Regions from separate parts of the Homo sapiens genome. Here all the other regions are linked to region 4. The links are contacts of gene promoters, found by promoter capture Hi-C in blood cells and fetal thymus (Javierre and others, 2016). All regions are on one chromosome and are shown on one strand. Each heading gives the region's core, a stretch centred on a gene start or on the middle of the fragment in contact. The rest is flanking DNA. Distances are from core to core; before and after follow the strand shown. Region 1 has its middle 87 kb from the start of LINC02948. Region 2 has its middle 45 kb from the start of LINC00589. Region 3 has its middle 68 kb from the start of LINC02209. Region 4 holds the start of DUSP4 (dual specificity phosphatase 4). Region 5 has its middle 83 kb from the start of LINC02099. Region 6 overlaps LINC02099 (long intergenic non-protein coding RNA 2099). Region 7 has its middle 60 kb from the start of LINC02099.

Region 1 (3,690 bases), core at 706-3,205, 300 kb after region 4:
AAAATAAGGTCACCCTCAGATCTCTTGGCATCTGGCCACCTGTCTTGGACAGGTGTCCAAGGTGTCTGTTTCAAGGGAAATGGCTGGAGAGGGGGATCTTCATGGGATTTGCATTACACTGATGAGTGTACATGGAGCATCTTTAGAAATGTGTGTTGATGGAGTTGTTACCAGCCTATCACATCTGTAAAACGATGGATGCTTTTAAAACCTTTTCCTAGACATGCTCTCATTTGGGCTGTGAGAAAGGTTCTGAAGCAGCATTTTTCCTGTGTATATGAAACAACAGAAACTCAGGGACGTAAAGAGGCTTAACCACAGTCAGGTGAAAACAAGTGGCAAGGGCAGGTAAACCCTGCTGTCATGGCCAGCCATGGACCCCAGCACTGCAGAGTGAGAGACGCCTATCAGCAGGGGGCAGCATTGAGAAGACGGTGCTTGGGCGATGGAGAATGGGGCCACCTGGTGAAGAATGGCTGCCTGCTAAGGTGTCTCCAAAGTGGGGCTTGTTGCCTCAGAGCATGATCAGGCTTTGGGATCAGATCCTCCCCTATTGGGTTGTATTAGTCCGTTGTTTTCACACTGCTGACATACCCGAGACTGGGCAATTTACAAAAGAAAGAGGTTTAACTGGACTTACAGTTCCACGTGACTGGGAAAGCCTCACAATCATGGTGGATGCAAGGAAGAGCAAGTCACATCTTACATGGATGGCAGCAGGCAACGAGAGGGAGCTTGTGCAGGGGAATTCTTCTTTTTAAAACCATCAGATCTTGTGAGACTTATTCGCTGTCATGAAAACGGCACAGGAAAGACTTGCCCCCATGATTCAATTACCTCCCACTGAGTCCCTCCCACCACACGTGGGAATTCAAGATGGGGTTTGGGTGGGGGCACAGCCAAACCATATCACAGGTTCATAGACTTCCTAAGATATCGTTTCAACAACTCACTTCACAGAGGTGGACACTGAAGCCACACCATCCATGTATTTATAGCAAGAATGATCTCTTTCCCCAGTGACAGGACCACTCATGTCCATCCAGAGCTGATGAACTACACAGGAAGTGGAAGCTAAGGACAGGCTGCTGGAGCTGCCAGGGTGGAAAGGAGACTTGGACTTGAGCATAAATCCCCTGTGAAGATTTCTAGCTGTCTGCCTTTGATGGGGCTCCAAGTCTCATTTCTTCACTGTGCTCAAACCAGCTCTCAGCAGTCCTGTGTACATGCTCATACCCCATTCCTAGAATCAAGCTTTAAAATCAAGATTTTAAAAATAACACACACCAGGTCATCAATTGTTGAAGTTTTGTTGTGTTTTGTTTTTTAAATGTTTTAGTGACAAGGTCTCGCTCTGTCACCCAGGCTGGAGTGCAGTGGCACGATCATAACTCACTGTAGCTCACTTCTGGGCTTGAGGGGGTCCTCCTGCCTCAGTCTCTTTAGTAGCTAGGACTATGGGCACGTACCATCACACCTGGCTAATTAAAAAAAAATTTTTGTAGAGATGAGCTCTCTCTATGTTGCCGAGGCTGGTCTTCAACTCCTTACCTCAAGTGATCCTCCCACTTTGGCCTTCCAAAATACTAGGATTACCAGTGTGAGCCACCACACCTGGCCTGGTCATTGAAGTTTATGAAGATTACTTGCAACCATGGAATCAGATCCAGCTTGGAGAAACATTTTATTAAAATTCCCTGTGAAATACTTCTACATCCTACCCTATACCTCTGGTGATTAGAGCTACTAGCGTCCTTCACATACTGTATTCCTTTCACCTGGGCAGTGCTGAATGTACCAGGCTATTCTCCCCTTTGAATTATATATTCTAAGATACTACCCCTCACCTTTTCAATGACCCATTCTTTCCTTAAGTGCATTAATATTATTCTGATTCCAGTTCAGTCCAGGCTATTTGGAGATTTATTGGCGCTACTCTCAAGTTTAAGGGACAGCAATGTGTCTAAGGGTGGGGGATTCAAGTATAAGAGAGCTTGAGGCAGCAAAGGAGCCCAAGAGAATCTGGGATTTCTCCTACAGTCCGTTAGATTATGTTCTGGAGACAAACACTAATAAGTGACTCTATATTCCTTGACATGTGATTTTCTTGACATACTCATTTTCTGTTTGAACAATTTCTAATTTCGCTTTGAACAGAGCAGAAGCCATATTGCTAGAGAGCTGTCCGCCCCACCCCCTACTCTTGCAATCCCCACCAATCCCCATCTTCCTCACCACCAGCAAATTTCTCCTAGGGCCCTGCTGTAGCACACAGTGATGCCTTCTCTTCTTTCTGACCCATAGCTCACTTGGTTTGACCTTGCTTTGACCTTGCCACAACTTCTTCGGGCCTCAGTCTCCCATCTGCAGGAGGGGGTCTTAGACCTGACAGTCTCCAACATTTCTGCCAACTCTAGATTCTCAGAAAGATACTCTCAGGAAAAAGAACCCCAAATTAAGCAAATTGGCATTGACTTTTGTTTCTGTTCTTTCTCTTTATTCTGTAGCTGTCAAGTCTTTAGGTATTTGAAACCAAGTGCAATGGGTTCCCTGTGGGTTTAATTTCAGTTGCTCTCTGTGTATTTTTTATTATGCACTTACCGAGGGACCAGTCTCTGTAAGTGTCCCCGAGGCACAAGTGTCCTTTTAGTTCTCAGAAGCTTGGCAACCCACATAAAATCTTCTAATTAAAAATGTGCATTTCAAGAAAAATTTGAAGTCACACCCTCATACGGTGGAAGAAAGGAGCTCTGTTAAACTCTCCACGCACACAAGAATGAATCTCATTGTTAGAAAGAGATTTTCTACTCTACCAATCCTTGCTCCAGATTTCAGAATCCACCTCAGGCATTGAAGCTTCAGATTATCAGCCCCATGGGTCATAAATACTGACCTCCATTTACCATCTGTTAGCTCCATCACACAGAGACTCAATTCAGTACACATATCCTGAGAACCTACTACATGTCCGACCTAATGCTCAGAGTCACTGAGGACCCAAGGTAGTACTTTGCAAGGGCTCAGTACTTAGACTCTGAGTGAGTCAGCTGTGGTTTGGATCCAGGTTCTAGAGTGCATTTGCTCCATGACCTCTTGGATCCTCAGTGACTTCATCTGCAAAACAGATGCAACCTGCCAGGTGAGGTTGTTGTGATGTGTTCATGAGGTAATACATGCAAAGCATCAGCTCAATGTCTGATCCCTAGTAAGCCCTTAACAAATGATACCTATGATAATGATCAAAAAAGGGAAGATGACAGATTCATTTATTCAGCAGGCATTAACCAAGAGCCTTTTATGTTCCACACACAATGCTGGACAGTGAATATGCGTTGGTAAACAAAGCAGGCATAGTAGCTGTTCTCATGGAACTTGCAATCTCATAGGAGAAACAGTCTCTATAAAACAAACAAATCTATAAATATATAATGACAAGTTGTGGTAGGTGATATGAGGAAAATGAACTGATGCCTGAAAGTGCTTGGGAAGTTAGTGTGGGCAGAAGCATGTGGCCTTGGAAAAGAAGACAGAGGTTTCACCACAGCACAGGAAATACTCTTTTGAAAGGAGGTGGTCAGGGCAGTTTTTACAGGACAGAAGAAGGAGCCCAGGAGAAAGAAACACATTTATCAGAAGAAACTTAGTTTTGTTCCATTATTGGCTTATAATATTTTAAAGTTTGAGCATTTA
Region 2 (3,657 bases), core at 1,121-3,620, 350 kb after region 4:
TCAGGAAACCAAGAAACAAAACAAAACAAACAAAACCAACCAACCAAACAAACAAACAAAAAACCTGAACCTAAGCAGATGATGGGAAAAGCTGAGAAGCAACTTAATTTACACTGAATTTACACTAAGGACACTGAACCTTTACCTGTAAAGGCTCAAGAATTGGCAGTGATAGTTGGGGTGACAATGGGGCAAAATAATAGAAGAATTAATTCAAAATTATCTTTAAGAAGCACTGATATAGTTTGGTTCTGTGTCCCCACCCAAATCTCATGTCAAAATGTAATCCCCACCTATTGGAGAAGGAGCCTGGTGGGAGGTGATTGAATCATGGGGGCAGACTTCCCCCTTGCTGTTCTCATGATAGTGAGTGAGTTCTCATGAGACCTGGTTATTTGAAAGTGTGTAGCACTTCCCCTTTCACTCTCTCTCTCTCTCGCTGGCCATGTGAAGATTTGCTTGCTTGCCCTTCACCTTCTGCTATGATTTTAAGTTTCCTGAGGCATCCCCAGCCATGCCTCCTGTACAGTCTGCAGAACTGTGAGTCTATTAAACCTCCTTTCCTCATAAATTACCCAGTCTCAGAAAGTTCTTTAGAGCAATGTGAGAATGGACTAATACAGAAAATTGGCACCAGAGAAGTGGGGCATTGCTTTAAAGATACCTGAAAATGTGGAAGTGACTTTGGAACTGGGTAATGGGCAGAGGTTTAAACAGTTTGGAGGACTCAGAAGAAGACAGGAAGATGAGGGAAAGTTTGGAACTTCCTAAAGACTGGCTAAATTGTTGTGACCAAAATGCTGATAGTGATATGGACAATGATGTCCAGGCTGTGGTGGAGTAAAAATCACTTGCCATGCTTTAGCAAAGAGACTGGCAGCATTGTGCCCCTGCTTTAGGGATCTATTGAACTTTGAACTTGAGAAAGATGATTTAGGGTATCTGGCAAAAGAAATTTCTAAGCAGCAAAGTGTTCAAGGTGTGATCTGGCTGCTTCTAAAAGCCTATGCTCATCTGCATAAGCAAAGAGATAATCTAAAACTGGAACTTACATTTAAAAGAGAAGAAGAACATAAAAGTTTGGAAAATTTGCAGCCTGACCATGTGGTAGAAAAGAAAAATCCATTTTCTGGGGAAGAATTCAAGCTCAAGCCAGCTGCAGAAATTTGCATAAGCAAACAGGGACCAAATGTTAATAGCCAAGACAATGGCAAAAATGCCTCAGAGGCATTTCAGAGACCTTTGCAGCAGCCCCTCACATCATAGACCTGGAGACCTAGAAGGAAAAAAAAATGGTTTCATGGTCTAGGCCTAGGGCCTCACAGTTCTGTGCAGCTTCAGAACATGGCACGCTACATCCCTGTCACTCTAGCTCCAGCAGTGGCTAAAAGTGGCCAAGGTACAGCTCAAGCCATTTCTTCAGAGGGTGCTTCAGAGCGTGCAAGACCCAAGCCTTGGCAGTTTCCATGTGGTGTTAAGCCTACAGGTGCACAGAGTGTGAGAGTTGAGGTTTGGGAGCCTCCACCTAGATTTCAGAGGATGTATCGAAATGCCTGATATCCAGGCAGAAGTCTGCTGCAGGAGCAGAGCCCTCATGGAGAACCTCTACTAAGGCAGCACAGAGGGAAAATGTGCAGAGGGAAAATGTGGGGCTGCAGCCCCCACACAGAGTCCCCACTGGGGCAGTGCCTATTGGAGCTCTGAGAAGAGGGCCACTGTCCTCCAGACCCCAGAATTGTAGATCCACCCAACACCTTGCACCATGCACCTGGAAAAGTTGCATGCACTCACCGCCAGCTTATGAAAGCAGCCACAGGGGATGTACCCTGCAAAGCCACAGGGGAAGAGCTGCCCAAAGCCTTGAGGGTTCAGTCTTTGCATCAGCATGGCCCAGATGTGAGACATGGAGTCAAAGGAGGTTTTGAAGCTTTAAGGTTTAACGACTGCCCTGCTGTATTTTGGACTTGCATAGGGCTGTAGTCCCTTTGTTTTGGCCAATTTCTTCCTTTTGGAACCAGAGCATTTACCCAATACCTGTACCCCCCTTGTATCTTGGCAATAACTAACTTGTCTTTGATTTTACAGACCCATAGATGGAAGGGACTTGCCTTGTCTCTGGTGAGACTTTAGACTTGGACTTTTGAGTTAATGCTGGAATGAGTTAAGACTTTGGGGGACTGTTGGGAAGGTATGATTTTGTTTTGAAATGTGAAAAGGATGTGAGATTTGGGAGGGGCCAGAGGCAGAATGGTATAGTTTGGCTCTGTTTCTAAAACCAAATCTCATGTTGAATCATAATCTCCATGTGTTGGAGGAGGAGCCTGGTAGGAAGTGATTGAATCATGGGGGCAGACTTTCCCCTTGCTGTTCTTGTAATAGCGAGTGAGTTCTCATGAGGTCTGGTTGTTTGAAAGTGTGTAGTACTTCCCTCTTTGCTCTCTCTCTCTCTCTCAATCACTGGCCATGTGAAGATGTGCTTGCTTCCCCTTCACCTTCCACCATGATTTTAAGTTTCCTGAGGTCTCCCCAGCCATGCCTCCTGTACAGCCTGTGGAACTATGAGTCAATTAAACCTCTTTTCTTCATAAATTACCCAGTCTCACGTAGTTCTTTATAGCAGTGCGAGAATGGACTTATATGGCACTTAGACGTTTAGATCATTTCTCATTCTCTAAAGGTGAATAAAAGTCCTCTACCTCTGGCAGAAGACCAGCTGTTTATTCTGTGAAGAGGTAGGTCACAAGAAGCCTATGAACTAGGGTTATCAGCTACAGGTGAAGGCATGGGTAACTTAATAAAATAGGGAGATTAATCAAAGCTTAAATACTAAAATTGACAGCCCCTGCCGAGACTCTTAACCTCCAGGGATGAGGCTGTGTGTTAATCTGTTCTTGCATTACTATAAAGAAACACTGATGCTGGGTAGTTTATAAAGAAAAGACACTTAATTGGCTCATGGTTCTGCAGGCTGTAAAGGAAGCATAGCAGCATCTGCTCAGCTTCACTCATTGTGGAAGGTGAAGGGGAAGCTGACACTTCATATGGCTTGAGAAGGTGGAAGACAGAGAGGGGAGAGGTGCTACACACTTTTAAACAACCAGATCTCATGAGAACTTAGTCACTATCATGAGAAAAGCAAGGGGGAAATCTGCTCCCATGATCAAGTCACCTCTCACCAGGCCCCTCCTCCAACACGGGGGATTACAGTTTGACATAAGATTTGGGCAGGGACACAGACCCAAACCATATCAAGTTGTAAGAGCTTCTCTAAGGAAGCTGACTAACCCCATAAAAAGAGACTGAAAGACTCTGACATTTGAGATTCTCCAATTGTCTTAGTTTATTCAGGCTGCTATATCAAAATACCTTAAACTGGGTAATTTATAAAGAACAGAAATGTATTGCTTACAGTTCTGGAGGCTGAGAAGTCCAAGATCAAGGCACTAGCAGATTCAGTGTCTGGTGAGGACCCACTCCTCACAGATGGTGCCTTGTATGTGTCCTCACATGGCAAAAGGGCAAGGCAGCTCTCTCAGGCCTCTTTTATTTTTATTTATTCATTTTTATTTCAATAGTTTTCAGGGTGCAGGTAGTTTTTGGTTACATGGATAAGTTCTTCAGTAGTGATTTCTAAGATAAGGGGGCACCCATCACCTG
Region 3 (3,523 bases), core at 382-2,881, 500 kb after region 4:
CATTCTCATTACTAGTCAGAAGTGTAAATTAATTCATGCTTAAAATAGGAAATGGCCTGACTGCCCACAACTCTCTGAGTGATTCATGAATCAATTGGACGGGGTTCTCTCTAATCTGTCCACACTCTCTCCCTGTTCTGTTTGTAACACTTTCTCTGCAGTGTTAAAAGTTAAGTCTGTGACCATTAACAGCATCCACTAGAGACGGATCCTTCTGCTCTGGACTCATCAGAATGGTGCCCCCACCAGACAAACACACAAGCCCCAGGCCTCACCCACACTTAACCAATAAGGCAGGAACCTCAGAGACAAGTACTTTGCTGAGCTTGACAGAGTCCCAGCAGAAGTAAAATGCTGGTGATTTATATGGAGTCCCAGAGTTCATCCAAATATTAATTGGTATTAGAATTACAGCATTTTAGAGCTACAAGGGAGCTTATTGATGATGTAGTTAAACATCACAGAGTTCCTGAAGAGACTCAGGGAAAATGAGTGAATTAATTAAGAGACTTTGGCTTCTGTGAGCCAGAGAAGGGCCTGAGCTCAGGTGGGCAGCTCAACTCTTGCTGGGCAACTGCAAGGGCTGTTCAGGCCAGAAAAGCCTGAGGGCCTGGGAGAGACTAGCTCAGAATCGTGTCATATTTAGTAGGCAGAATAAATGTCCTCCTCCGAGACCACTGAATAAAAATCAAGTCATTTTCCCAGAACCTTCCTTCTCTGGTCACTTCCTCAAAATGAAGAATTGCCTGTGGCCAGGAGAAACTGTAGGTGGAGAGATGGAACCCTGTGGGAAAGTTCCTGTCAGTTCTCAACCTGGAGAGGTCATTAAGGCTCCACCAGCCTCAGAAACAGGAAGGAGGATAATAAGCACCAATACTTGTACAGGACTTAGAATGTACCAGACGCCCTATAAGTGCTTCACATACGTGACCCTACGTACCCTCTTCTTCCAAGCTTGGGTTTGAGCCCAGCAGTCTGTCTCCGGGGGCTGCTCCTAACCCCTTCAGGTCCCATATCACCTGAATGTTGAGTTTTAGGAAAGGACTGAGGTGACTCACATACAGGATATGCCACAGCCTGGCACCTCAACAAACATGGAATCTGTCACCATTACTGCTGCTATTGCTTTTTTTCTTCTCCAGTTCGGTAAATGTTAATGGCAGGGGCATAACCTCATCCCTGGGGGATCTCTCCTCATTGGCTTACTTTGTTCTCATCTCAAACCTTTCGGAGGCTGGAATCAGGACCTATCCATTCAAATTCCAGATGTGTTACTTGCGCCTAATTGCAGAACTCCTCCCTTTGCTCTGACGCAAACTTAAAGAGCAGGGAGGCTGAGGTTCTGAAAGAACTAAACCTTTGAAATTCCAATGAGAAGATTAAAATGTGAAACCACTTAAGGGCCTGCACTTTGACAGACTGTCTGTCGGTGTGACTCAGCCATCTGATCTTCCTGGGCCTGAAGGAAAAGACATTTTTGTCCTTCCCTCAGGTAGATAACTCACTTCCTTGAAACACGTCACTGTTGTGGAAAAGTGGGTTTGAAGAAAATCATTCTTGACATCTCTATTTGGCAGCAGTGTTTCTACAGTGCTACTATTCATCCTTGATGCAAAATTGTGTGTTTTGATCTTGGCCCTACCCTCAATGACAAAATTTCGAAGAGATAGAAAACTAGGCTAGAGTTTCCCTAGTTACGAGATTTGCAAATGTGTAATGGAGTTGAATCTTCAAGGCGTGCTCTTCCATCAAGCTACATAACCCCAAAGGCACCATGTCTGGGAAGCCACCCACAGTGATTTTACACACTTGTCGTAATATGAATGTGAGCACACACCGTGCACCAGTCACCCTTTTGCAATGAAATACAGGATTACAATTAAATAACATACTTTTATGAAACACAAATGATCACCACTTGCTTTTTAAATGAGAAATAACAAAAGTTGAGACCAGAAGTAAAGAACTGCCGTATGTAAGCACCAGTTAGGGGCTACTTCCTTTGAAGCCTCAAGGGCAGCCAGTGAGAGCAGACAGAACAGAAACTTTGAAGCCAGACAGACTAGAGTTTCAATCCTGAAGCAGATCAATTTCTCCGCGCGACCTCAGGCAAATCACTGGATTTCTCTGAGCTGAAGTTTCCTCATCTATTTAAATAATCCTTTTCTGGGGTCATCACAAGGCAAGATCACATGTCCTCACACAGGGTGAACAATTCATCAACAGTGCTTTCCCTTCTTTCTTGGAATTCAAATGGACTAGGGTGAGGGAGTGGTCACTGTTATTTGCATAGGCATGGGGGGAGGCAAGAAGCTTGGGGGAAAGGGAGAATGTGCAGTGTGCTCTGCCCCACTGAGGGAAGGTGTATTAGCCTGTTCTCATGCTGCTATAAAGGACTGCCCAAGACTGGATGATTTATAAAGGAAAGAGGTTTAATTGACTCACAGTTCCGCATGGCTCAGGAGGCCTCAGGAAACTTACAATCATGGCAGAAGGGGAAGCAAACATATCCTTTGACGGCAGGAAGAAGTGCCAAGCAAAAGGGGGAAAAGCCCTTTATAAAACCATCAGATCTTGTGAGAACTCACTCACTATCACGAGAACAGCATGAGGGTAACTGCCCCCATGGTTCAATGACCTCCCACCAGGACCCTCCCACGACACATGGGGATTATGGGAAGTACAATTCAAGATGAAATTTGGGTGGAAACACAGCCAAACCACACCAGAAGGGAAATCTCAGAAGAACCCAGAATTTGGGCTCCCCTGGACTTTGTCCCTGGTGCAATCCTTCTACACTTTAAACTGCAGAGCATCCTATCCAAGGACTCCTTTCTGAGGCTCCTCCTGCCCAGGACATCTGAGTGTCCCTGAACACTCTCCTCTCAGATCACTGCAGCTCTCAGGGTCCTGGCTCCTCTTTTTCTTCTTGTGGGTTTAAAAAAAACAATTCTAAAGAAGAACAGAGGTTTTCTGTTTTATCTTCACACATAACCAGAGAAAGACTTGCTATGGTTTGAGTATTTGATGCCTCCAAACCTCATAGTGAAATCTGATCCCCAATGTTGGAGGTAAGGCCTGATGGGGGTGTTTGGGTCATGGAAGCAGATTCCTCATGAATAGCTTGGTGATGTCCTATGGTCATAAGTGAGTTCTCGCTCAATTAGTTCCGGTGAGAGCTGGTTGTTAAAAAGAGCCTGGCCCCTCCCCACCATCTCTCTCTTGCTTACTCTCTCTATGTGATCTCTGCATATGCCAGCTCCCTCAACCTTCCACCATGAGTGGAAGCAGGCTGAAGCCTTAACCAGATACAGATGTCAGCACCATGCTTCCTATAGCCTGCAGAACTGTGAACCAAATAAACCTCTTTTCTTTATAAATTACCCAGCCTTAGGTATTCCTTTATAGCAACACAAATGGACTAAGACAGAACCTAACAGTATTTTATTTCTTGTTTTCCCTTTCTCATCCTCCTTGCCCTCCTCCCTGACTCATCGGTTTTTCTTGATTTTTCATCTGCTTT
Region 4 (3,574 bases), core at 54-2,553:
CCAATTGTACCTCGGCGCCCACCCCTCTTCACCTTTTCTCCACCTCTGGGATTCTCCCGGTCCGGCTCAGTGTAGGGCCCCAGCACGCCAAACCAACAGGCCTATCTTGTCCCCACGCGCCCCGTGGTACTTGGAAACTGTTCCCGGGACTCAAGATGGACCGCGCAGAGGAGTCGCTTCATCCTCGAGGCTAGGACCGTTAATGTCAATAAACGGGGCCTCGCTAGGACGGTGCGGAATTGCAGGTGACCGGAGAAACCCGTCCGCACTTTCCCTGAGGACTTGAACCTCGCACTTGCACAGAAACCTTGCAAACCCCTACACACCAACACACACAAAGGGGCGCGCGGGGATCCCCGCAACCACGAATCACGCCGGGGACTCCTTCCCGTGCCAATAAGGCGCAGGCCGCCAAGACCCCCTCCATCTCCCCGACTCCAGCTAGCGCCCGGAGCCCTCGTTTACCTTTGAGCAGGCAGATGTCGGTGCGCTCGGCGTTGCGGCGCAGCGCCTGCACCACCAGCGACACGGTGCTGTCCTCGCGGAGGCTCTCGGCGCGCGGGCTGCGCTCGTCGTAGACGATGACCGCCGAGTAGAGGCCGGAGCGCAAGCGGGCGCGTACCTCCTCCTCGGCGGGCAGGATCTGCTCCAGGCTCACGGAGCCCTTAGCCCGCCGCCGCACGATGGTGTTACAGCGCACGTTGACCGAACCTAGGATGTAGCCCGCGCTGTGCGCCAGGAACGGTCTGCAGTCCAGCAGCAGGCACTTGCCGCCGCTCGGCAGCCCCAGGGTGCCGTGGCTGCCGCTGCCGCCCGCGCCGCCGCCATTCTCGTCCCGGTTCATCAGCCTTTTGAGCACACTGCAGTCCATCTCCCGCAGCTCCTCCATCGTCACCATGGTCGCCGGGAACCGAGGCGGCTGGGCGCGCGAGGAAGAGAAGAGAACCCGGGCCGCCTAGGCTGCAGAAAGGGGCGGGCGAGAGCTAAGAAGGGACGCCTGCAGAAGTGGCCGCAAACTTGGTCCTCAAGGGCTCCCGCGGGAGAGCCTCTTCTTCCCTGTCCCCTTCCTCCCGCAGCCTCGCGGTCACATAGCAGTCGGAGCGGCCTCGGGCGCCCAGCCGGGCGGCGCGCAGAGCGGAGGGGGAGGCGCCGGTGGAGGAGAGTGTGTTTACGAGAGAGGACCGCGGACTCTTTTCGGCGACGGCCTCCCGTGTATTTTTGCCGGTCGCGCGGCTCCTGTCGCCACTGGCGCCAGCGCTGCCCTGCCTACGCTCCTCCGGCGCTCAGCGCACTGCCCCAGCCAGAGTTTTCTCCTCGGCTTAGAGGTTTATTAATGCTCCTCCGCGCTCCCGGGGGAGGGGGCGCTAGGTACTACCCCGCCAGGCCCCGCCCCGTTCCATTCCGGGCCCCGCGCCGTCCCCCGCCCCCCGCGCTGTCCCCCGCCCCCCGCGCTGACTCCCCGCCCCCTCCGGGCCCCTCCTCCCACCCCCTCCCCGGAGCTTGAATGGAGCGCGGCCGCTGGCTCCCGGTCACGGGAACTCGACGTCACAAAGAGCGGAGTAAACAGGGCGCCGGGTGCTCGCCATCAGGCCCATTCATAAAACCGAGGCCGAGAGGAAGAGGGAGGCGGCCTCCGACCCGCCGCCAGCGGCGGGCAGCGCCCGGACTTTGTGAATGGAGCGCGCGGCGCCTTTCGCCGTCTACCCGCGGGCCCAGCCTGCGCCGCGCCTCCAGCCCGACACCGGCACCTGTGCCGCCGCTGCACCCCGCCGCTAGGCGGGCGGCGCCAAAGGAAATAGCCGGCTGAGGAGGCCAGGGCTCGGGTTTGAGCTTTCATCCCTTGGCACCTTCGCGCTTCCCCGCGTGACAGCCCCGTAGGTTTTTCCCGGTTACCCAAGTGGAGAGGGGACCGGAGCGCTGCTGCCCACCCAGCGGGGCCTGACACCTCCTAGCCCCAGACTCCCCGTGCGCTTTCGGCCCGGCCAGTCCTTTCTGAATATGCGATTCCTGAGACGTTAGCGTATGCATTAGCGTGATCGATTTTCATCTAAAGCCATTAAATCAGTTTTATAGCTTCCCCAAGAACGTGGGCAACCCCCTGCTTGGAAGATGAAAGAGAAAGTCCTCCCGCCCGAAGCCCAGGATCGGAGTGAGGTGTGGGGTTTGTTGCTTTACTACCCAAAGGGAGGCATTAATTGCCGGAATGGTGTTCCGAGGGAGGAGAGCAGGCTGCGCTCCTGTCCACGCTTCCTAAAAGATGTTTATTTAACCCTGGTCGGGGGAAAAACAAGGTTTTCGGGTTTGGGAAACGTCTTCACCCTATCTTGCATAGTTGTGAATTATCCTTTCAGGAAATGACAGGGTCCACATTTGTTGCGGAGCTGGACCCTGGAAAATGTACCCGCAAAGAATGACCTTTTGAAAGGACTTCAGCAGCTCTGGGTCCGATTCATGTTTCTGGGCATCCCTTTTTCCTGGTCACGTAGCAGCCCTCCCCATCCCCATTTCTCTTTTGCATTTAATTTCCCAGAGGCGGCTTTTGGCTGGGGGTTTGTGCACGCACGCGGTGGGGACCGTGCAGAAGCCAAAAATCATTCGCCCGACATCTTGCCAAGTCTTGTTAGTGAGAATTAATCACAGAGCAAGGGAGTTACAGGACTCGCTCGCAGTTTCGGAGGCTGCAGAGTAGCGTATTCCATTCCGGGGCGCGCGTGGAAGCCCGACCCAGGCAGCGAGGGCACCGGTACCCGCCGGGTCTCTCCCGCCCAAGCTCACCCTCTCCCCATGCCTTTGTTCCGGGCGGAGCGGCTTTCCCGAGCTCTCACCTCCGGTCCCGGGGGCCATCCCTGCACTCCCCGACCGGAGCTCGGCGGAGCCTCCACTTCCGAGACCTTCGACTGGCCTCGTCCCCCACTGGGCCCCGAATGCCTCGACCCCCGGGCCCTACTCGGATGAGCTGTAGGGGCACCGCTTGGGCAAGGTGATATTTCCTTTTGCTCCGGGCTCCAAAATGGCTTACGATGGCACTGCACGGATCCTTTCTCTTTTTAAAATTTAGTATTTTATTCATCATGGATTTTTTGCATTTTTTTTTCTTTTAAAGAGGCATTGCATCAAGATATTTCTTTTGATTACTGACTTTTCGGCGCCCTTCTTAAATGTTGCGCTCAAGGCTTGTGCTCACCCTAGTCCAGGCCCTGGAAGGAGCCACAACTGTGGACTGACCGAGGCTGCCCGGTGGCAGGACCCTGGGCGTCGGGCACTCCGGGTGGGAGATCAGTGGTCAAAGCCGCACGGCGTGGCCTCCCTGTGGGGAGGGCAAAAGGTGTCTGAGTCCAGTTTCCCATTCTGCTGAATGGGACTGTGGGGGTCTATCTAATAACTCGCTTTCGATAAGGAGCAAGGAGCCCCAGGGGCCCCGACAGTCCAAGGCTGATTTTGCTTTCCCGGGTTGCTCTCCAGCAGCTCAGAAATCCGCCGCCTGCCAGGACCCAGGGCCGGAGCTCTCCCGGCGCAAGTAAACACTGATTCCTTTACAAAGGCTTTAACAAGACATTTCTGGGAAAAGCCTCTC
Region 5 (3,715 bases), core at 293-2,792, 480 kb after region 4:
CTGGTAAAAGAGTCAAAGAACGAATTTAAAATGAGATGATCTTGTTGTAGATAATATGCTACCCTGCAACCTTAGCTGCCTGCCTGCTTGAAGATTCTCAGTCCTTTGCTTGTCCGTTCCAGTGAAGCAGGATAGAAAAGAACTGTGCAATTTTGCTCACCACTTTGATCCCTCGGGGTGCTGGGAGACTCCCCTATTGAAGGAATCTGAGGGATCCTGACAGGTTTCCAAACACCTACCTTGCTACTGTCAAGATGGGCCCAGACCCTCCTGGAGAGATGAAATGAGGCAATAGAGTGGTTTGGAAGACCATACTAAAACTCTTTTCAAGGGGTGGCATGTGGAATGCCACAGCCCCTCCAATTTGAGAGCTTTGTCCTTCTGTATGCCTGAATGAGTTTTCCTCTTCTCACATCCAATTGGAATGAGGGTGCTCCAGAAGGCATTTCTACTCACAAGTCCTGCCATAAACACAGAGATGGCTCTGCATTAGCTTCTAGAGATGCTAAGGAGAATAGAGACTTTCTACCACCTTGATGTGTAACCATGGAGCAAGGGTCCAACTTGAGAGGAAGTAAAAGTCACTGGCTCACCTTGAGATTCATGAGTGAGGGTTTGGGGATGTGATAGTTAATTTTATGGATCAACTTGCTGGGCCACGTGGTGCCCAGATGTCAGGTCAAACATTACAGTGGGTGTTTCTGTGAGGGTGTTTTAGATGAGATTCCCATCTAAATTGGTGGACTTTGAGTAAAGCAGTTGTGGGTGGTCCTCATCCAATCAGCTGAATGCCTGAATAGAACAAAAACACTAGTGTCCCCAAGCAAGAGGGAATTTTCCAGCGGACTGCCTTCAGACTCCATCTGCAATATGAGTTCTTCCTGATTCTATAGTAGACTGCTTTCAGACTGGAACTGGAATGTTGGCTCTCCCATATCTGCACCCAGCAGAATTTGGACTTGCCAGCCTCCATAATCATGTTATCCAATTCCTTATAATAAATCTCTTTCTACACATATAACAGAACCAATTTCCTATTGGTTCTGTTTCTTGGAGAGCCCTAATATGGAGGCAGAGGGAGAGTGAATGATAGACTCACTGGCTGTCAATTTGCTGAGAAACTGAATATACAAATAGACAACAGCCAGACTATATATCAAAATAGAACCCTAACCCAGTCTACAGCAACTATTCCAGAAACCTAATCCATTATCTACAATAACCAGCCCAGGAAGACAGCTTGCTATCTATAAGTCAGATTGTAACAGATTAGACCACTATCTCTAGAAACCATCCCAGGAAGCCAGACAATAATCCCTGTAACAATTGGCCCCAAACAGCCAAGACTTGGTTTATATCTGACAGCTTCCCTAATAATTGTCCCCACTTCCAACTCAGGACCAACCAGAGAGCCCAGTATGCTCCCCTAACCAATTATATAGATTGTCACACTATGAGATGGCCTGTCCACAGCTTTTCCATGCTAACAGCCTCCAATCAGGGCACACCTGAAGCCTTGCCTTTTATCCACTATAAATGATTTCCCACTCCGTGGCCTGCCTTTGAGTCTCTGTCAAAAGCAAATGATGATGGTTGTTTCTCTTGATATAGTAAGCTCTAAATAAATAGTCTGTGCTTGTTTTCATTTGATTGATCTTCATTTACTTCCACATTACCTAAAAATGAGCTCTTGGAAACAACTCATCCAAGGGAATAAAGAGTTTGACCCCAGAGTTTGATTCAAGGACAGTGGAGCAGCCTCAGAAGGAAAAGATGATCCAGCATTCCCAGTGTCTGTCCCACAGATTGTCTTCCTGGGCAGCCCTCAAGAGAAGGGAACTACAGTAAAAGAGGATGAGCAAAGTGAAATCTTTCTCATGCTACCATCTCTCTCAGACTTCAAGAGTACAAGGGAACAGCATCACTATTGCCAACAACTTTCGCAGCAACTTTAACACTGACATGGGATGAAATCCTCAGGTGTCAGGATCCCCAGAGGTAGGACCCTTGCAGTTCACAGCAGATGCAGGAGAAATCTCCAAGCAGAGCAAAGACAGAGAAGATGGCAGATGCTACGGGTAACTAGGTCCTCCAAGCCTCATGAAATGCCAGAAAAATGGAGTAGGACCTTGAGGGAATCTTTCAGGTAGAATAGGAGTGAGCAAAGTCAAAGAAAGCCTGTTTGCTGGTGATTATTGTAATCTTGGGCTTATCCCAGGCTGGCTTAGACAAGGAATCACAGGCTATACACAGAATTTTAGCAATTGCTTAGCTAAATTCATTGTAAAATCTCTCTTCTATATGTCTACTTTTCTATATTCCCCTTTTATCTGAATTTCCAATCTTGGTATAAGTTTCACAGAGTGATAAATGTAGGTCAGTCGTGGTACCATGTCAAACAAGAGAGACATTTATGTGTTTCATTGCTTATTAATGAAATAACACCATGACAGATGATACCTGTTTCAGAGAAAGTGTCATAGGAGTCAGCCCACCACAGTAGTATGTGAGCTCAACAGTCCCATCAACAAGTGAGTCAGGCAAGATATAAATGTTCATTTATTTGCATGCATGCTTGTCAAAGTTGATGAATATTCTCATTTAAAACAAAACAAAACTAAAAACAAAATTGTTGTATAGCAACCAGTTAGGACAGTTTTCTGAAATTGCTGAAATACCCAATTTAAATGAATATCTGTTTATAGATGTATTTCTTTTTCATATCATTTCCTTCATGGGTTTGATGGAGGGCATGTTGTTTTAAAATGTAGGTTTTATTATTCAGGTATGGTGAGGTCAACAGATGAGAAGGCAATGCCATTGATGAGAGTTTGTTACTCACAGTTCCCAAGACTGGGACGGCATAAAGTGCCAGGAGTGGGGGTTTCCACTGGTCACGCACCAGGGTCAGTCAGGAGGCAGAGGGAATGATGAGGAAAATGCAGGCAACACCCTTTATTGTGGTTTCCACTGGAAGGAATGGGAAAGGCAAGGCAAGCAGGCTTAGAATCGGCTAATTTGAGTAACTTTAGCAGGTTTTAGGGAATACAAACTGTCTCTGGTTGCCTGTTACCTGGTCCTGGGTGATTAAAGCAAGGGAATCTTTGCCCTAAGTGTGAAAGCCCTGTAGAGGAGGTGGTGGGGTGTGGTCTTTGGGTTGGCTGGTTTGCATATGAAATGCATGCCACAGGCCAGTCCTTCACTACCTCTAGGAATTGACCAGCAAGCAGGGGCAGTTTCTCCAGGGTCAGCAGATGCCAGAGCATTAAAAACACATGGCTAATACATGTGTGTTTTTACTCTCCAGTCCATAAGCCTCTGAAGAACAAAATTTCATCAAAGGAGCCTCTTCGCTGTTCTATAATATTACATATTTAGGGGGCTGTGATATTTATTTATGCATTAAGATGCTAGCAAGACTTCAAGGAACTTCAGCCTAATTCAAGCACACACTACTGCAGCCCTTACAGTAAACAATGAGGTCAGCGTCCTTGGGCACAAAGTGGGGAACTGGATGGATCCCACAACTCCTAACTCTTGGGTGTTTCCTCCCTGCTCCCTTTGTCTGTCTGCTTTCTCAATTTGCCCTGGGATCACTTTGTACTGAAACCTCCCATGAAATAACTCTGCTCTAGGCACTCTGCCTCAGCCATTTCCCATGATTTGATGGTTGGTTAATTTTGTACCAGTGGTGGGCTAGACTTGGCTTGTGAGA
Region 6 (3,619 bases), core at 817-3,316, 440 kb after region 4:
TTCAGTAATGGTGCCAAGACCATCAATGGGGAATGGACAGCATCTTCAATGAATGGTGCTGAGAAAACTGGATATCTACCTGCTAAAGAACCAACTGGGTCCTTACCTTATCTTACCTTACCTTATACTATATGTACAAATCAATTCAAATGGAATAAAGACATAAAACTATAAAGCTCCTAGAAGAAAACATAGGGCAAGAGCTTTATAACATTGCATTTGTCAATGATTTCTTGGATATGACACCAAAAGCACAAGCAACAAAAGAAAAAATAGATAAACTGAACTTCACTGAAATTGAAGACTTTGTGCCCTAAAGGACCCTTGCAAGAGAGTGAAAAGGCAACCCAAAGAATGGGAGAAAGTATTTGCAAATAACTTTATCTGGTAAGGAATTAATATCTAGAATATATAAAGAGGTCCTATAATTAAAACAAATGAGCAGCCCAGTTCAAACCTGGTCAAAGGCTCTGAATAGATATTCCTCCAAAGAAGATATACAAATGGCTAATAAGTACCAAAAGATGTGCAATGTCACTAGCCACTAGGGACATGCAAATCAAAACCACAACAAGATACGATTTCACACTTATAGGATTGCCATTACCAAAAAACAAAAAATTTAAAAAAAAAACATATTGGTAAGGATGTAAAGACATTGGAAGCTTTGTACATTTCTGATGGGAAGGTAAAATGGTGCAGTCACTGTGAAAACACTTTGGTAGTTCCCCAAAAAATTAAACAGAATTACTATATGATCCAGCAGTTTCACTCGTAGGTATATATCCAAAAGAAATGAAGAGAGAGAATCAAACAGACGCCAATATTCACAGCAGTATTATTCACCATAGCCAAAATGTGGAAACAACTCAGATGTCCACCAACAGATGACTGAATAAACAGAATATGGTATATACATAGAATGGAATATTATTCAAGCCTAAAAAGGAATAAAGTTCTGACACATGCTACTACATGAATGAACCACAAACATTATGCTAAGTGAAATAAGCCAGATATAAAAGGACAAATATTATATGAATCTACTTACATGAGGTACCTAGAACGGGCGAATCCATATAGACAGAGGGTCGAATAGAGATTACCAGGGGCTGGAGGGAGGAAGGAATGGGGGTTAATGTTCAATAGGTGCAGAGTTTCTGTTTGGGATGATTAAAAGTTCTGGAGATAGATGACTATGACGTTTGCACAAAAATGTAAATGTACTCAATGTCATTGAATTGTACACTTAAAAGTGTTTAAAATGGTAAATGTTATGTATATTTTACCACAAGAAATAAAATATAGACTGGAGGTCCTCATGTCATGGAAAATTGTTTTTCTGTCACTTAGTATGTAAAGTGGATGTGTTCTATTTACTGAAGAGTCTTCGAGATCAGGGAGGAAAGACAGAATTCATAGAAAAGAGACAGCACCTGAATTTTCCAGTGCCCCCTGCAGCCCTTACTCATGCTCATCAATCTAAGGTTTTCTGCAATCAATTTTCTTCTTTCCCCCTTTCAAATGCTTTTCATGATGGCAAATAAGGATGTCAAGCTTCAGCACCCTTGCATCTCTGGATAAATGAAATGTCACCCCAGCTGCCGTCCTTGTTCAGATCTGTGCAATAAAGAGCAAAGCATAAAACCAAGTCAAGGCTTTGAGTAAGTCTGGGGAAATAAAAGACACCAGTCCTTAGGGGCTGGAGGAGGGGAAACAGCCGAGAGAGGGGGGCGGGAGGGGAAGCAAGAAGTCGTCCAGATGATGAAAGCGTTTTATAACTTGATGTGAAATGTCCAGATGGTGGTAGTTACATGTATGTTTACTTGAGGATTATTTATAACATACACTTGTATGTAATATTTTGAATGTGTCCTAGAGCTTGTGAAAAAATTGCCTTTAAAACGTATAATTAACAAGATTGTTGACAAACTGAGTGTAATAAATGAGGAAGACAAACTCATTGAGGAAGTTCCCAATCTTCCTGTCTGGATGACTTTTCTGTCTCTCAAAACTGCTGCCTGTTAACTTGCTCTTAGCAGTTAGTTCTTCACAATGGAAATGACATCAGTTCAAAGTGTTAGTCTTTACCTTTCACTCAATCTAACTTATCTCAGTGCAGTCCCTAGGGAAAGGATGAACCCTAAACTAAGAGCCAAAATATTACTGAAGTGATAGACTTAAATTTCCTACTCTCACGACTGTTGGAGCAGAAAATTTCACAATACTTTGTAATAAAAGCAAAAAGTGTAAATCTTAAAAAAAAAAAAAAAAAGTACTCCAATAATGGCCTTTTCCCTCTGCCTTGCAGGGGAGTGACCTACAAAATGCATAATGTGAAACAATGCAAAAGCGAAAGGTGCAAAATCCCCATCAAAGAGCTGGAGGCTGACAGATGCGCCAGTGATAATTCCCATCTTCCAACACAGGAGCACAGCTTCCATTTTCCATAACAGAACAACAGCCAGAGCAGCTGGAAGGCAGGGCCGCATCCCAGACTTCCACCAACAATGGGATGAGACTTGACATCTGGAATCACAACCACAACAGACCTGAGAGACCCACCAGCTTGATGACAAGCTTCTTCTTTCAAAGAAAGGTATCAGTCTGGGGGACCTAGTGCTGCAAACCATGACAAATTAAGTGTGGCATCCCTCACTTGCATAATGGAACTCAGTGATATTTTTTAATTAACAAGAGTTATTTTTATGTAAGCTTCTCTCATTCCTCCACTGTGCGTGCTCGGGGGCTGGTGGTGAGGAAAAAGAAAACAGCTGTGCGGGAAGCATCAAGAAAAGGCAAGTCATGAAGTCTTAGAGATCAGTGACATGTAAGAAAAAGAGTGAGGAGAAAAATATTCCTACTAAAGTTTTCCATTTGTTTACCTTCCTTGTCACATAGACTTCCAAGAGTTAGAAGTCTAGGATTTGATCTCCAAATCTTCCTGGCAGATTACTCATCTTCATTTCATTCATATAGTCCAGGGGTTTGTACAAAGGAAGATGCCAGTTCTTCCCCAATCATAACTAAGATATCAAGAGATATTCTTTTGAAATGTAACAAAGGAGATCTGAAGTTCATCTGAAAAAAATAAATGGGTAAGTATACTGACAAATATTTTGGCAAAATAAAAGTAATGAGGAGATACTAGCATTAGCCTCATCAGGCATTAAAATATATTATAAAGTTATAATATGTAAAACAGCATGGGACTGGCACTGAAACTGACAGTTCAACTGAAGAGAATAGACAAGTTAGAAGTAAGTCTTGATGTATGTAAGAATTTAATAAATTTGAAAGATGGTAAGGAAAGATAGGATTGCTTAAAAAATGGTTTTGGTGCAATTGATTAACTTTTCATAAACTGGGTCAGCTCTTACTAGATATTGCTCTGAGACACTCACCCACCCCAAGTGTCCCCCAGCTCTCTGAGCTTCCCAGCTATATGACATCAGAGCTCAGGAAACTCTGGTCCTCTCCATCCTGGTCTCCCACCATTTTCTCTGCAGCCCCCAATCTTCCTGAGATCACAGCTCCCATGGGCACCATTACCCTCTACTGCCAGCATCACTCTTGGGCAAGGAAAACTCCACCCTCCCATGAGCTTCTTACGACAAAG
Region 7 (3,528 bases), core at 700-3,199, 460 kb after region 4:
TTGAAGGATGAGGCTTATAAACTACTGAAATAAAATGTCATTGTCTAAGATACAGCAATTGACATATGTAAGTCAGCATATACAAATGAAATAGATCACTATGAATACTACTTTAAATGCTTTGCTTTTTAGGCCACATGGGGTTTTCAGGGGTGTGTTGAGGCAGACTCTAACCTCTGTCTCTAACCTCTGCAAGACGTGGGAACCCTTTCTGGAGCTGTCTCAACTGTGGTGTCTTCAGTCAGGAAGTGGGGATGACATCACCACATCTTAAATGTGGGCAGATTAAATAAGATGATGGGTATGAAGCCTAGCACATCACAGGTGCTCAATGCATGTTGGTTCTCTCCTCCTTACCTCCTTTCTCCTCCAAATCATAGACTTGATGTGTCGGCATCAGCACAGCCCTAGAACAATGAAAAAAATACAAAGAACAACAAGAACCTATTCAGTGTTTTTCACCTTGAATGATGTGAGTGGAAGACAAGGGAGACTGACATGTTAGTGAGAGAAATAAGATGGATGGACACTAAATGACGCCTGTTTGGACTGACAGTAGCCCATTCACACATTTCTCCAAAAAGGACTGATTATATTAGATGTGCAGCTCTTCTATCCCCTTTTCAAAAGAAAAAAAAAGAAAGGCTTAACAATTCTAGAGAGAGGCTATCAAAATCTGCCTTTACTGCTTATTTTCATGATCTCATGCATATTCCTCATCGTCCAGTATTATTTTATACAGATATAAATGTCTGGCTCCAACTATCAAAACAAGCCTGCTACCACTTGGGGGTTAAAACATGCAGGCTCTGGGCTCTCTGCAGAAAGGACTTTTTAAAAATTGTCAGATGCTTCCGTGAGGCAGGGCTGTGCGTGCCTGTGTGGTCTGAGCAGGCTGGCAATAGGAGGGCTCCCCTTCACAGAAACCCCCAGAGCGCAATCTTGGGGGACACATCGGGAGGCAGCCAGGCATGGGGATTTTCCAGCCTGCCTTCCCCGCCCTGCCTGTGACAACTCAGCTCATGCATCAGGCAGCGAATCCCATTCACGAAGCTGTCAGTGACTGCTGAATTCATTGAGAGACTCGGAACCCATCTCGCCGAGGTTCAACTGTGGGTTAATCCCAGCTAACCTAAATCATTGTTCCCTGAACACAAAGGAATGTGGAATTCTGTGCTGGGGCTGTGTGTCAGCACGGCTTCCTTGCTAGGTAGAAATATATTCAGCCTCAAGCGAGAGAGAATATATGAATATGTGAGTAGCTGGGCAGCTACGCTTCTCCCTCCAGCCAGAGGCTTCCATTTACTGCCGCCCCCAGGGCATCCAGAGGCATGGTTTGGACCACAAAATCCTGTTCTGTAAACAAATGAATCTCACAAGGGTCAGTTTTATTTTTTTCATGCTCCACTTCCAAAATCTACAACTGTAGGATGTTTGCTGTCTTCCCCTTCTACCATAAAGACAGCCACCAGTAGGGGAGGGTATGTGTAGGGGAGACATTGCTGTTTTGGGGCCATCCATTTAGAAAGCATTTGAGGTTACAGTGTCCCTTCATGAGGCACAACTCTGCAAGGACCAGTTCCATAGCATAGTGAGATTAATATGCATATTAGAATCTGTACATAATCTTCACACGCAGTAATTGCAGTCATAGGCTCTAGACATAAAGAAACATGCATTTTATAATAGTACTGGATCAATAAAAAAAACCCAGGAGTTAACATTTAGCTCACAAATTGAAGAAAATATTAAATTCATTGAGAAATAGGCAAACCATAAGGCTGTAAAATGGTCCATTATAGTCAGAAAACTCATCTGCATTGTGAGAGCGCTGAGTACAAGACCTCACCATAAATCTACAAAAGAAAGGCTACTCTTCCAGACTCAGAAGGAGAGAAGGGAACAAAAATCACATTAGCAATGTATATTGCTCCCAGATTACAAAATTAGGGTTTATAGGGAAAAATTCAGCCTGCAGTAATGGTCAGTAAAAATGACCGGTTTTATAGAACCGGAACTTGTAAAGATAAAGGAGAAAAGGCAGCAGGAAAAACATTAAAAAGACTCCCACAGAAACCTGTCCAGAAATAGAAATTCAGAGGACTTCCTGCCCTTTAATAAAATAAGCTCAATTGAGATGAAGCAGAATTATGGATGAAGCAAGGCAAATTATTTGATCAAACTAAGAAATTTTTTTTTAATAGTCATTCAGGAAAGAGCAAAAACCACTACAGTTATCTACCATGGATAGAGGTTGTTCAGAGCTGGTAAAGTAATTAAATCTGTCACCAGTCACCAGGCACGGTGGCTCATGTCTGTAATGCCAGCATTTTAGGAGGCTGAGGTGGGCAGATCACCCGAGGTCAGGAGTTTGAGACCAGCCTCGCCAGCATGGTGAAACTCCACCTCTACGAAAATACAAAAATTAGCTGAGCTTATTGGTGCATGCCTATAGTCCCAGCTACTCTGGAGGCTGAGGCATAAGAATCATTTGAACCCAGGAGGCGAAAGTTACAGTTTCGCCTTGATTGTATCAGCCTGGGCGATAGAGCGAGACTCCATCTCAACAAACAAACAAACAAACAAACAAAAACTGTTGCCAGAAGCTCACCAACTTGCATGCTGTGGCTTGTACCAATGGGTAGGTGCAGCTATGTAGCTAAGCTACACTTCAAGACTTCAACTGCAAATGTATGATAATAAATGGATTAAGCCAATAAAGTTTTATAAGTGCAAACCTAAGAATATATTCTTTAATGGCTGCTATGAAATATGCTGGAATAGGGCCAGAATATTAACACACATTCTGGCCAACACTTCAGACGTTTGGTTATTTAAGAGAAGTAATAGAGGCAGGGAGTTCCCCATCCGAGCTGTCTTCACTGCATTCACACCCACAGTCGTGAATGAAGGATCACTGTGAACCCAGCATTGCATCTAATGCTCCAGACACAAAGGTGGGAAGTTTCTTAAGATGCTCACAGTTAACTAGCACAAAAAAAAATTTTTTTTCAATCAATGCATGATGTGTAATAGGAGGCTGTGAGGGAAAGCAGGCTTGGGAATGACTTCTGTAAGAGGCTGGAAATCCTCTTTGCATCAAAGATAGCCATGTAGCCAAGCTATGGCCCTTAAGACAAAGTCAGAAATTTAGTTTTGTTTTAGGGGGTCTGGGATTGGGGGCTTCTTTGAAAGTTTTTTGTGATTTAAAAGGAATGACTTAACTGCTGCAAAACCCCCCCGCAGTCACTCTTTTTTTTTTTTTTCTATCTTTTCTCTTTTTGGCTTACGTAGAGATGTGAGCAGGCACCATAGCAGCTGTCTTGCAACCATGAGTAAAAGGCTAAGGAAATTGCAGAAATAACCCTGGCACCAGTATGTCTGCATTCTAATGTCACAGTAACCCCGACTGCTAAGCCAACACCAGTACCTGCCACCTACTGATGTCTTGTTATAGACAAGAAAAAAATCTACCCAGGTGTGTTTAGACCACAGTGGTTGGTGCAGCCAAATGCATTCCTAACTGAC

The links. Contacts are between HindIII fragments. The CHiCAGO score rates a contact against its expected background, and 5 or more counts as called.
Region 1: a contact is called between a fragment that was not itself captured here and the fragment with the promoter of DUSP4 in region 4, in 8 of 17 cell types (M2 macrophages, non-activated CD4 T cells, activated CD4 T cells and 5 more). The highest score is 8.8, in M2 macrophages.
Region 2: a contact is called between a fragment that was not itself captured here and the fragment with the promoter of DUSP4 in region 4, in 11 of 17 cell types (activated CD4 T cells, M2 macrophages, naive CD4 T cells and 8 more). The highest score is 9.4, in activated CD4 T cells.
Region 3: a contact is called between a fragment that was not itself captured here and the fragment with the promoter of DUSP4 in region 4, in 1 of 17 cell types (M2 macrophages). The highest score is 5.2, in M2 macrophages.
Region 5: a fragment that was not itself captured here is called in contact with the fragment with the promoter of DUSP4 in region 4 in 2 of 17 cell types (M2 macrophages and M0 macrophages); the score reaches 5.7 in M2 macrophages.
Region 6: a fragment that was not itself captured here is called in contact with the fragment with the promoter of DUSP4 in region 4 in 1 of 17 cell types (M1 macrophages); the score reaches 6.8 in M1 macrophages.
Region 7: a fragment that was not itself captured here is called in contact with the fragment with the promoter of DUSP4 in region 4 in 2 of 17 cell types (naive CD4 T cells and total CD4 T cells); the score reaches 5.9 in naive CD4 T cells.

The regions. Positions count from the first base shown.
Region 1 is chr8:29,647,068-29,650,757 of GRCh38, forward strand. No RefSeq gene overlaps it. Among named protein-coding and RNA genes, the nearest start is that of LINC02948, 87 kb to the left of the region's middle. The HindIII fragment of the contact is 1,406 bases long and covers 1,253-2,658 here.
Region 2 is chr8:29,701,025-29,704,681 of GRCh38, forward strand. No RefSeq gene overlaps it. Among named protein-coding and RNA genes, the nearest start is that of LINC00589, 45 kb to the right of the region's middle. The HindIII fragment of the contact is 891 bases long and covers 1,926-2,816 here.
Region 3 is chr8:29,852,030-29,855,552 of GRCh38, forward strand. No RefSeq gene overlaps it. Among named protein-coding and RNA genes, the nearest start is that of LINC02209, 68 kb to the right of the region's middle. RefSeq lists a silencer at 1,124-1,418. The HindIII fragment of the contact is 1,359 bases long and covers 953-2,311 here.
Region 4 is chr8:29,349,381-29,352,954 of GRCh38, forward strand. It overlaps DUSP4 (dual specificity phosphatase 4), which reads right to left and starts at 1,304. Exons shown (of 4, transcript NM_001394.7): 1 at 466-1,304. The coding sequence starts at 898. It overlaps LOC124901924 (a long non-coding RNA gene), which reads left to right and starts at 1,594. Exons shown (of 2, transcript XR_007060876.1): 1 at 1,594-2,154. RefSeq lists enhancers at 302-803, 332-481, 804-1,303, 2,002-2,071, 2,112-2,221 and silencers at 1,162-1,481, 1,672-1,811. The HindIII fragment of the contact is 21,736 bases long and covers 1-3,574 here.
Region 5 is chr8:29,829,436-29,833,150 of GRCh38, forward strand. No RefSeq gene overlaps it. Among named protein-coding and RNA genes, the nearest start is that of LINC02099, 83 kb to the left of the region's middle. The HindIII fragment of the contact is 5,163 bases long and covers 1-3,715 here.
Region 6 is chr8:29,788,784-29,792,402 of GRCh38, forward strand. LINC02099 (long intergenic non-protein coding RNA 2099) reads left to right here. Exons shown (of 4, transcript NR_125815.1): 2 at 1,549-1,664; 3 at 2,312-3,098. Among named protein-coding and RNA genes, the nearest start is that of LINC02099, 42 kb to the left of the region's middle. The HindIII fragment of the contact is 1,023 bases long and covers 1,556-2,578 here.
Region 7 is chr8:29,806,348-29,809,875 of GRCh38, forward strand. No RefSeq gene overlaps it. Among named protein-coding and RNA genes, the nearest start is that of LINC02099, 60 kb to the left of the region's middle. The HindIII fragment of the contact is 3,973 bases long and covers 1-3,528 here.